Linked DNA regions of Homo sapiens: region 2 is linked to region 1. The links are contacts of gene promoters, found by promoter capture Hi-C in human tissues and cell types (Jung and others, 2019). All regions are on one chromosome and are shown on one strand. The core of a region is centred on a gene start or on the middle of the fragment in contact, and the rest is flanking DNA. Distances in the headings are between cores, read along the strand shown.

The links. Contacts are between HindIII fragments. The study calls those that stand out against the background at their distance.
Region 2: a contact is called between a fragment that was not itself captured here and the fragment with the promoter of ZNF562 in region 1, in 2 of the 25 tissues and cell types used here (lymphoblastoid cells and pancreas).

Annotation. Positions count from the first base shown.
Region 1 is chr19:9,671,569-9,677,521 of GRCh38, forward strand. It overlaps ZNF562 (zinc finger protein 562), which reads right to left and starts at 3,532. Exons shown (of 6, transcript NM_001130031.2): 1 at 3,447-3,532. RefSeq lists enhancers at 2,501-3,700, 3,239-3,738, 3,417-3,476, 3,739-4,738. The HindIII fragment of the contact is 2,519 bases long and covers 1,634-4,152 here.
Region 2 is chr19:9,278,802-9,284,754 of GRCh38, forward strand. It overlaps the pseudogene OR7H1P. Among named protein-coding and RNA genes, the nearest start is that of ZNF699, 28 kb to the right of the region's middle. The HindIII fragment of the contact is 5,089 bases long and covers 1-4,742 here.

The DNA.
Region 1 (5,953 bases), core at 2,282-4,781:
CTTTAACGCCCCACACAGTTACCTGTAAGGATTCTAGTTTCAACTGTAGACAAGAGCAATTTCAGGCTGCAATGCAAGCTTCCTAAGCACTTGGTCCACCTGATCCAGCAGACCCAGTGATACTCAACGTGTCCATGTTAAATGGCATGTTATTTATTGGAAGCCTCCGGCATGCACCAACAGAAGATGTAGAGTACAGCCCTCTGGTATTGCAGAGTCAATCCATGCCCTCTTGTGCAGATTAACTGTTTTTCTCTTGAGAAACAGGTTGTGGTTTGCCACTAGCACATGACAGAGAATGAACAACTAGTCATGGGACATGAAGTAACTAAGGCTGAACTGAGTAATTTGAGACTTTCTGGTCCCCAAAGCATGAAGTACATACTGTCACCCATTATCAAACAACTGTTGTCAGCCTCTCCTCTGGACCCAATTCCAAGTTTGTAGGAAATCGCATGAAATAAAGGAATATTTACACACACCATGAGAATCCAATCAGAAATATCTGATTGTATGACTTTCTAAGAGAATGAGTGTGACTCTCTGAAAGTCAATATAATGGACAGTAATAACTGTTATAGGCAAAAAGACACTGAAGACACTGACAATTGCAATGCAAAAATCTTGAATGGATCTTAGATCCAAAAACACCCAAGAGCATACGTTGAATCAATGAGGAGAATTTTAGTTATTACGGAAAGTAGACATTAGATGACATTATTATTTTTAATTTAAGTGAAATACTAGTATTGTGGTTTTAGTATGACAATGCCTATTTTTAGGAGGTGCATTACAAAGTATTTAAAGGTCAAGCATCACATGTACAATTTATGCTCAATTTACACTCAAATTGTTCACTGTAAGATTTACATGAGGAGAAAGAAATAAAATGCTAAAAAATTAAGTAAATCTACTAGACTGGGTGTGTTAGATGTTCAAGTTTTCCTTAGGATCAAATTTTTCAGAAAAAAATGTAAAAACTACACTTAGTCCAAACATGCTCTTAATAAATTATACAGATACTAGATATTTTATTACACTGATACTAGAATACTATTCTGATTATAATAGTAAATAATTCTAGTGTCAGTGTAATAAAGCCTCCATTCTTTCTTCCTGGTTCCTGGAGGCCTCTGTTTTGAAGCACTGTGGGGAAGTACAGACCTAAGAACTTCAGATGAAGAGAATAGTTGAGTATTATTGCCTTTCTTTTTTTTTTTTTTTTTTTTTTAGACAGTTTCGCTCTTGTCACCCAGGCTGGAGGGCAGTGGCGGGATCTCGGCTCAATGCAACCTCCGCCTCCCGGGTTAAAGTGATTCTCTTGCCTCAGCCTCCGGAGTAGCTGTGTAAGATACAATATATTTCTCTGAATTTCTCTTCAAAAGTTCAGCCTGTAAACTTCCTTGTTCTTTGTTCTCAAACTCAACTTTCCTGTTCTCCATGCCTCCTTGCCTCTAGTTACTGTAAACAACCTTCCCATCAGCTCTAATCAATAACTCACATCTGTTCCCTTGGCTACTCATTCTGCAGCTATTCCACTCTTTGAAACTGCACATCCCACCATCATGACTCACACATCCCCCTACCCTTCCTTATTTGGGGAAAATATTCACAGATAGCCAATAGGGTCAGTTTAGATTCTGCGGTCTGACCCTAACCCACGGGGGAGAGACACAGAAGTAGGGACCCAGCGTTAGAAATAAAAACCCCTTCCCCTCCCTTATCTGGTGTACTCTCGCCATCACTCCATCCACGAGACTCACCCTTCTATAGAAATAAATTGCGTTGCTGAGAAAACTTTTGCCTGAGTGCTGGTTTCACTTTGCAGCACCCAGCGTTTTATTTTTTTATCTCCAACAGCTGGGATTACAGGGGCCCACCACCAAGCCCGGCTAATTTTTGTATTTTTAGTAGAGACAGGGTTTTACCATGTTGGCTAGGCTAGTCTGGATCTCCTGACCTCAGGTGATCCGCCTGCCTCTGCCTCCCAAAGTGCTGTGATTACAGGTGTGAGCCAGTGCATCTGGCCTGGCTTTAAGTAGAAAGGCTTGCAGCTGGTAACAATTAGAAAAAAAATAACCTGCAAGAAAATAAAAATTAAAAACTAAAGGCTTAGTCTACACGCGTTCATATTTACATACAAAAACGGGCACACCCTAAACAACTATGTTTTTTCCATCTGAATGTAATGTGTCAAAAATAAGTGGCGGGTGGATCACTTGAGGTCAGGAGTTCGAGACCAGCCTGGCCAACATGGTGAAACCCCATCTCTACCAAAAATATAAAAAATTAGCCAGGTGTGGTGGTGCACGCCTGGAATCCCAGCTACTCGGGAGGCTGAGGCAGGTGAATCATGTTATAAAGTTTTCATGCCACAAAAAAAAAGCACTCAAATATAACATTTTCTTTTCTCAGCAAGGCAATTTACTTCTACAGAAGGGTGTGCCCTCACAGATGGAGCAATGGTGAGCACACACCAGGACAAGGGAGGGGAAGGGGTTCTTATTCTTGAGGAAAGTGGCCCCTGCCGCTTTGTCCTTCCCCGATGGCTAGGGTTAGACCCCACAGGCTAAACTAATTCCAATTGGCTAATTTAAAGAGAGTGACAGGGTGAGTGGTTTGTTGGGGAAAATGGTTATAACAGAGCAGGAAATTGGAATGAGTCAGGGTGGAAAATGAGTCAGGGTGGAGTAAGTAATCGAAATAAGTCTGGGTGGAGCAGGTAATCAGAATGAGTCAGGGTGGAGCAGGTGATCGAAAAAGGTTGCTTTACGGAGAAGTTTAAAAGTAGAAGGCAAAGAATTAAACATACTGACATATTGATTTTTTAAAAAGAAATTTAAAACTCATATCTAACAATCACTTGAACCCGGGAGGTGAAAGTTGCAGTGAGCCAACATCGTGCCACTGCACTCCAGCGTGGGCGACAGAGTAAGACTCCAAATCAAAAAAAAAAAAAAAGTAAAGGACATCAAGACAACGCCAGATTCTCAGATGAGACATTTTTTAGCAAATAAATGGAAGTCACAGCCCTCTTGAAACCATTTTTCCGCCGTTGCTCACCAGGAACATGCCGGAAGAGATAGGTTCCAGACGCGGGAGAATGCGGGGCCAGAGCCAACCTCACCAGAAGGGCAGAAATCCTTTTCCTTTCGGAAAGAAAAAAACTCCCAAAGGTTGCTTTCCAAGCTTTTCAAGAGAGGAGCACAGCGGATGAAAGTACTCAAGAAAACACCCGGCGGAGGCGGAACAAACACACTTCCCGACGCAGCCAGACGGACTGTGCGGCCTCTCGGAACTGGCCAGAGGCCGCACCAGGAGGACTGACAGCCCCTAGAAAAGCGAGTGAAACTAGGCGGATCTGAGAGGCTCCTGGGCGACCACGCCCAATCCTTCCTTTGCCGCCCCGCTGGTATGTCCCGGACCCCCAAGCAGGTAGAACTCACCACAGCGGGGTGGACTCCACCACAATAAAGGTTAAACGGCACTGACCATGCTGAGCCACAGCCGGTAAAGATGGCGGTGGCACACTGACGTCACTTCCGCTCCGAGCCTCCGGCCGGGTGGGGCTCCAGGGCTTGAGTTTCAGGCACGTAGGACAAAGAAATTCTAGTTTCCTCCTGGGTGGGTGCCGGACAGTGCCTGGGGTTGGCTCAGGGAGCGGGATGCAGAAACGGGTTCAGAGAAAAAGATGAGTTTAGAACCGGACCTCTGGACGGAACCGTGGGCGAGGGGTGGGGCCCATATTTGGGGGCGGTTTAGAGGTGGGACCCGGCCTAGCCCGCGTTTCAGGTGCCCAGACGGGTTGGAAAGGCGGGGATGGGGGATGGGACGCACCCCAGAGGATGCTCCTCCAAAGCTTATCCTGGGCGGGCTCAGTGGCTCACGCCTGTAATTCCAGCACTTTGGGAGGCTAAGGCAGGTGGATAGCTTGAGTCCAAGAGTTCCAGACCAGCCTGAGTGAAATAGCAAGACCGTGTGTCTTTTTTTTTCTTTTCTTTTTTTTTTTTTTTTTTTTTTTGAGACAGAGTTTCACTCTTGTTGCCCAGGCCTGTGCCCGGCTCGACCCTGTCTCTATTAAAATATATATATAAGGCCAAGCGCCAGTGGTTCACGCCTGTAATCCCTGCACTTTGGGAAGCCAAGGCGGGCGGATCACCTGAGGTCGGGAGTTTGACACCAGCCTGGCCAACATGCTGAAACCCCGTCTCTACTAAAAATACAAAAAAATAGCTGGGTGTGGTGGCAGGCGCTTGTAATCCCAGCTACTCAGGAGGCTGAGGCAGGAGAATCGCTTGAACCCGGGAGGCGGAGGTTGCGGTGAGCCGAGGTTGCGCCACTGCACTCCAATCTGGGGGACAAGAGCGTGACTTCATCTCAAAAAGAAAAAATATATATATATGTGTGTGTGTGTGTGTGTGTGTGTGTGTGTGTGTGTGTGTCAAGCTTTTTTGTATGCCGCTCCTCATGTTCCTGGAGCCTTTCCATGATTCTTCCATATTAAACCTGCCAGTGATAGATGGCATGGTCTGTCTCTTCCATTCAGTCATTCTTTCTGTAGGCCTTTATTTTTTCTTTTTCTTTTTCTTTTTTTTTTTTTTTTGAGACGGAGTCTCTCTCTGTCCCCCAGGCTGGAGTGCAGTGGTGCAATCTCGGCTCACTGCAAGCTCCGCCTCCTGGGTTCACACCATTCTCCTGCCTAGCCTCCTAAGTAGCTGGGACTACAGGCGCCCGCGACCACAACCAGCTAATTTTTTTGTATTCTTAGTAGAGACGGGGTTTCACGGTGTTAGCCAAGATGATCCCCATCTCCTGACCTCATGATCCACCCGCCTCGGCCTCCCAAAGTGCTGGGATTACAGGCGTGAGCCACCGCGCCCAGCCTATTTTTTCATTCTTTATTTTATAGAACCTGCTGTTTCCATTGCGTTTTCTTTTTACTTTTTTTTTTTTTTTTTTTTTTTTTTGAGACTGGAGTCTCACTCTGTTGCCCGGGCTGGAGTGCAGTGGTGCAATCTCAGCTCACTGCAACCTCCGTCTCCTGGGTGCAAGTGATTCTCCTGCTTCAGCCTCCTGAGTAGCTGGGATTACAGGTGGCTGCCACTATGCCCAGCTATTTTTTCTATTTTCAGTACAGAGGGCATTTCACCATGTTGGCCAGGCTGGTCTCAAACTCCTGACCTCGTGATTTGCCCATCTCAGCCTTGCAGAATGCTGGGATTATAGGTGAAGGGGGCCAGCCCCTCCACACCTGTGGGTATTTCTCATCAGGTGGGATGAGAGACTGAGAAAAGAAATAAGACACAGAGACAAAGTATAGAGAAAGAACAGTGGGCCCAGGGGACCGGCGCTCAGCGTCCAGAGGACCCACACTGGCACCAGTCTCTGAGTTCCTTCAGTATTTATTGATTACTATTTTCACTATCTCAGCAAGGGGAATGCAGCAGGAGAACAGGGTGATAGTGGGGAGAAGGTCAGCAAGAAAACATATGAGCAAAGAATCTGTGTCACAGATAAGTTCAAGGGAAGGTACTATGCCTGGATGTGCACGTAGGCCAGATTTATGCTTCTCTCCACCCAAACATCTCAGTGTAGTAAAGAATAGCAGAGCAGCATTGCCACCAGCATGTCTCACCTCCAGCCACAGGGCAGTGTTCTCCTGTCTCAGAAGAGAACAATGTACATTCGGGATTTATACCAAGACATTCCGTTCCCAGGGGCATTCAGGAGACAGAGGCCTTCCTCTTTTACTAATGCTCCTCAGCACAGACCCTTCATGGGTGTCAGGCTGGGGGACGGTCAGGTCTTTCCCATCCCATGAGGCCATATCTCAGGCTGTCTCAGTGGGGAGAAACTTTGGACAATACCCAGCTTTCCTGGGCAGAGGTCCCTGCTGCTTTCTGCAGTGCATCGTGCCCCTGGTTAATTGAGAATGGAGAATGGTGATGACTTT
Region 2 (5,953 bases), core at 948-3,447, 390 kb before region 1:
GCAGGTAAGCCTGAGGACCTGAGCAAGCTCACAGTAAAAGTGCTGAATGACTCAACTGGTGCAGAAGGACACCCGCAGCACCAACAGACTCTGGATCAGGGAGTATGACAAGCTGAGGAACCAGGACACAAGAACCAGCAGGCCACAGAGGCAGGGGTTCCTGGTGACACAGTAGTACAGGGGGTGACAGATGGCCACATACCGGTCATAGGCCATCACGGTGAGGAGAAATGTGTCCATGCCTCCAAAAACCATGAAAAACATACATCTGGGCGATGCAGTCTGCATAGCTGATGGCATTGCTCTGCACCTGGATGTTCACCAGCATCTTGGGGACTGCGGTGGAGGTGAAACCGATGTCAGCCAGGGACAGATTGGAGAGGAAGAAGTACCTGGGGGTGTGGAGGTGGGAGTCAGAGCTGATGGCCAGGATGATGAGCAGGTTCCCCAGAACGGTGACCAGGTACATGGACAGAAACAGTGCAAAGAGCAACTGTTGATCCTCTAGGTCTTGGGAAAATCCCAGGAGTAAAAATTCTGAAACTCTTGTTTGATTTCCCAAGTCCATGTTGCTGACACATCAGCTAGACAGTTAAGGAAGGGAAGAAACATGAAATAGATGCTGAACAGGCTCCAAAATCTCTCTGCTTTTTTATTTCTTGAGGTGAATAATTGGATACAAAAGCTTTAAAATAGCAAAACTTAGGAATCCTACATTCTGTCATTTGTTATAGGCAACATTTCATAACGTTGACTAACCCCTGTTCATTGGCCTCTCAGAGGCTTACCCATTCCCTTTTTCTCTGCTTTAGAATCATCAAATCTACCAAGAGCAACTTTAGACCTTAGAGATAAAATGGTCTGCACCTGCTCTAACACATATAAGGTTCAGTGAACTTAAGAAAAGGTCAGGGTCATCTTCCTTGTCTAAGACACAACTGAGACTGAAGAAGGTCAGACAACTATGTCTGAGCAGTGAGAAAATATGAAAGCAGAGATAATAGCTAGACAAAATATTGCAAGATGAGTGGATTTAGGTTTTCAAGGAAGGAAAGAGGAAGGGAGGGAGGGAAGGAGGAAGGAAGGGAAGGAAGGAAAGAAGGAAGGAAGGAAAGGAAGAAAGGAAGGAAGGAAGGAAGGAAGGAAGGAAGGAAGGAAGGAAGGAAGGAAGGGTTACTTGTTGCCTTAAGTCCCACTTGGAATTATGGTGGCAGCCAAATTCTGATTCAAATAGGTCATGACATTACCAGTAATAACATTCATCTTAAGAAGCTGACCGCACATTAAAAACTTTCTACCTTAGAACCAGGGTTTCAAAATTAGAGACCAGAAAGATACAGTCATTTGACACTTATATGATTCTCTTTTTCCATCCACATAATAAATATGTCCTAATCTGTTTCTAGTGTCTAGTGTTGGTGCACAATTTTTTTTGTTGTTGTTGGGTTTTTGTTTGTTTTCTTTTCTTTTGAGACAGAGTCTTGAGCTGTCACCCAGGCTGGAGAGTTCAGTGGCGCAATCTCGGCTCACTATAACCTCTGCCTCCCGGGTTCAAACAATTCTCCTGCCTCAGCCTCCTGAGTAGCTGGGATTACAGGTGTGCACCACCATGCCCAGCTAGTTTTTGTAAAAATACAAAACTAACTAGCTAGTTTTTTACAAAAACTAGTTAGTTTTACCATGTTGGCCAGGCTGGTCTTCAACTCCCAACCTCAGGTGATCTGCCCACCTCGGCCTCCCAAAGTGCTGGGATTACAGGCATGAGCCACAGCACGTGGCCTGGTGCATAATTTTTGTTGAGCCGTGCTGGGAAGTACAGAAGAATTGAACTAGGTTGACAACTAGGTTGTCAGTCACTGAAAAAGTGCTAACAGCCATTCTGCAAGAGGGTCTTCTTTGGGCCAGGCTAAGTGTTAGCTGTTGGGGATACAAAGATTAATGATGTGGTCTTTTTTTTCTTATGGTTCCACCTTCCAGAAGATGGATTCAGAAACAGATCATTGTAACACAGTGAATTAAGTGCTAAAATAAAACGATGTACAGAGTGGAGTACAGAGAGGAACCCTCAATCCAGCCTGGAGTAATGCATTCAGGGAAGGAGTCCTGGAGGAAGGAATACCTGGGCAAGGAGTTACCCAGGTGAATGGTTGCACAGGGGCATTTCTGGCAGAGATATAAGCAAGGGAATAAGCCTAGAAGCAAGAAGCAGCATGGGACAGAGTTCTCTTAGCCCTTTGCTGCTGCTTAAGTACAAAGTGTTAGATAGAAACGATGAGGATGATGTTGGAGAGGTGGGCAGGGATGACATGTCTAAGAACTTTGAAAAGTATAATCCATAAAGGATGGGGCTGTGAAGGAACGGCAATCAAAGGAGTAACATGATAGGAATTGCAATTCTCCCTGGGGCCTGGAGGGAAAGATGGATTTAGGGCAGGCAAAACTAAGGATAAGGGAACAGGGTTGGGGATTCTTCATATCATTGGAATTGAGGGGAACAACTCAGGAATATTTTTGCAGAAGAAATACAAAGGCCAGGAGAGGTAAAGGAATGAGGTCAATGTCTTGCTAACAATCTCAGCTTAAGGATGAGACTTGACCTTCAAGTGAAATGAAGGGAATTATGGAAAAGAATCCTGCAGGTTTCAATGCTTCCCTCGTGTTCCCCAGAGGATACGATGTCAAGAGGAGACTGGATGTTGGGCTTGCCTGAGCCCTTCACTTTCCCTCACTCACCCATCGTACCCTAGTTGTTATACACCATGGCCTTCCATTCCAGGGAACACAGACGCTTGTCTCTTGAAGGTGTCTACTTAGAATCATGGATAAGGGTAAAGAAGGATGGGGAAGGATAAGTCTTTCTGGAGAGGCAGGAGATGTTTCCAAGCAAGTGAGGGTCACAGAGAAGAATTCAGAGAGGCTTGATCTAGGCTGAGGGCCTCTGAAGTTCTTGGGTCAGGTAGTAGGTGAAAAGAACTAGAAGTGACCAGGACTTCACTGCAAGGCACCTACAGCTCCTACTGAAACCTGCAGGATTCTTTTCCATAATTCCCTTCATTTCACTTGAAGTCAAGTCTCGTCCTTAAGCTGAGATTGTTAGCAAGACATTGACCTCATTCCTTTACCTCTCCTGGCCTTTGTTTTTCTTCTGCAAAAATATTCCTGAGTTGTTCCCCTCAATTCCAATGATATGAGGAATCCCCAACCCTGTTTCCTTGTCCTTAGTTTTGCCTGCCCTAAATCCATCTTTCCCTCCAGGCCCCAGGGAGAATTGCAATTCCTATCATGTACCTTGGAGCATCCATTTGTACAATGCAGATTGGTCACTCCAAGACCACACAGAGTGATCCAGGGCAGCGCTAAGATATCAAACAGTGCCCCAGGCCAACAAAGAGTAGCCCTTCCTATAACCTCCATCAGTCATCTACCCAAGTAATATACAGGCAAAGTTAAAGCTCGCTATACAATGGCTATTTAAGCAAGTAGTCTAGCCATTCTCCCTTCCAAGAAATCAGCCTCAACAGCCCCTTCTCCGTGGACATCACAGGGTTTCTCCTGCCCTATGATTAACAAGTCAATGCCTTTCCCCTCAATCATCTCTTTTCCCTATTTCCCTCAACACTTACTGAGCTATGAAGGTTTGACAATGTGGACCCACCACAGGAGCCACCTTGTGTCCAGAATTGGTGGGTTCTTGGTCTCACTGACTTCAAGAATGAAGCCGCAGACCCTCGCGGTGAGTGTTACAGCTCTTAAGTGGCGCGTCTGGAGTTTGTTCCTTCTGATGTTCGGATGTGTTCGGAGTTTCTTCCTTCTGGTGGGTCCATGGTCTCGCTGGCTCAGGAGTGAAGCTGCAGACCTTCACTGTGAGTGTTACAGCTCTTAAAGCAGCGCGTTTGGAGTTGTTCGTTCCTCCCAGTAGGCTCGTGGTCTCGCTGGCTTCAGGAGTGAAGCTGCAGACCTTCGCGGTGAGTGTTACAGCTCATAAAAGCAGCGTGGACCCAAAGAGTAAGCAGTAGTAAGATTTATTGCAAAGAGCAAAAGAACAAAGCTTCCATAGCTTGGAAGGGGATCCGAGCGAGGTGCCACTGCTGGCTGGGGCAACCTGCTTTTATTCTGGTATCTGGCCCCACCCACATCCTGCTGATTGGTAGAGCCAGTGGTCTGTTTTGACAGGGTGCTGATTGGTGCCTTTACAACCCCTAAGCTAGACACAAAGGTTGTCCACGTCCCCACTAAATTAACTAGATACAGAGTGTCCACACAAAGGTTCTCCAAGGCCCCACCAGAGTAGCCAGATACAGAGTGTCAATTGGTGCATTCACAAACCCTGAGCTAGACATAGGGTGCTGATTGGTGTGTTTACAAACCTTGAGCTAGATACAGAGTGCCGATTGGTGTATTTACAATCCCTGAGCTAGACATGAAGGTTCTCCAAGGCCCCACCAGAGTAGCTAGATACAGAGTGTCCATTGGTGCATTCACAGACCCTGAGCTAGACACAGGGTGCTGATTGGTGTATTTACAATCCCTGAGCTAGACATAGGGGTTCTCCATATCTCCACCAGACTCAGGAGCCCAGCTGGCTTCACCCAGTGGATCCCGCACTGGGGCTGCAGGTGGAGCTGCCTGCCAGTCCCGGTGCCGTGCGCCCGCACTCCTCAGCCCTTGGGTGGTCGATGGGACTGGGAGCCGCGGAGCAGAGGGTGGCGCTCGTCGGGGAGGCGCGGGCCGCACAGGAGCCCATGGAGGGGGTGGGAGGCTCAGGCATGGCGGGCTGCAGGTCCCAAGCCCTGCCCCGTGGGAAGGCAGCTAAGGCCCGGTGAGAAATCGAGCGCAGCGCCGGCGGGCTGGCACTGCTGGGGGACCCAGTACACCCTCCACAGCCGCTGGCCCGGTTGCTAAGCCCCTCATTGCCCGGGCCGGGCAGGGCAGGCCGGCTGCTCGGAGTGCGGGGCCCGCCAAGGCCACGCCCACCCGGAACTCCAGCCGGGCCCGCAAGCGCCGCGCGCAGCCCCGGTTGCCGCTCGCGCCTTTCCCTCCACACCTCCCTGCAAGCTGAGGGAGCCGGCTCCGGCCTTGGCCTGCCCAGAAAGGGGCTCCCACAGTGCAGCGGTGGGCTGAAGGGCTCCTCAAGTGCCGCCAAAGTGGGAGCCCAGGCAGAGGAGTCGCGGAGAGTGAGCGAGGGCTGTGAGGACTGCCAGCACGCTGTCACCTCTCAACCTCCCCTGAATCTTGTTGTCTCGTGGAAGTAGGCGATGAAGACAGAAGCTCTGCCCCCCAAAAGAGCAGGGAGACAGAGCCCGGCAGGTGGTACGCGGCCTGGATGATTTCTCCTGGAGAACGCATGAGTGTCTTGGACCTTGCGCCTGGGGGCCTGGGTGACTGTAAGTAGATGAATTGCATGTTGGGCCCTGGGGTGGTCTATCCCCTCTGAAGCTTGTTAGACAAATTGGTCAATGGCGTATTCATTCCCTGATCAGTTTGGTTCCTCATGGGCAGGGACTACACAGGAAGAGGTCTCTGAACGGCCAATTCCTTATTCTTGGGAGACTATCAATGGGGCCAGCTGTGACTCCCGTCTCCTGTACCTCTCCTTTGGGAAGAATCACTCTAGTCTACTTTGAATCACCTTTGGTGACAACTGTCAGCAATTTTTTTTTTTTTGAGACAGAATCTCGCTCTGTCACCCAGCCTGAAGTACAGTGGCGAAATCTTGGCTCATTGCAATGTCTACCTCCCAGGTTAAGCGATTCCCCTGCCTCAGCCTCCCAAGTGGCTAGGATTACAGGCGCGTGCCACCATGCCCGGCTAACTTTTGTATTTTTAGTAGAGATGGGGTTTCACCGTGCTGGCAGTCTGATCTTGAACTCCTGCCTTCAAGTGATCTGCCCATCTTGGCCTCCCAAAGTGCTGGAATTACAGTCGTGAGCCACCACACCTGGGCAGCATTTTC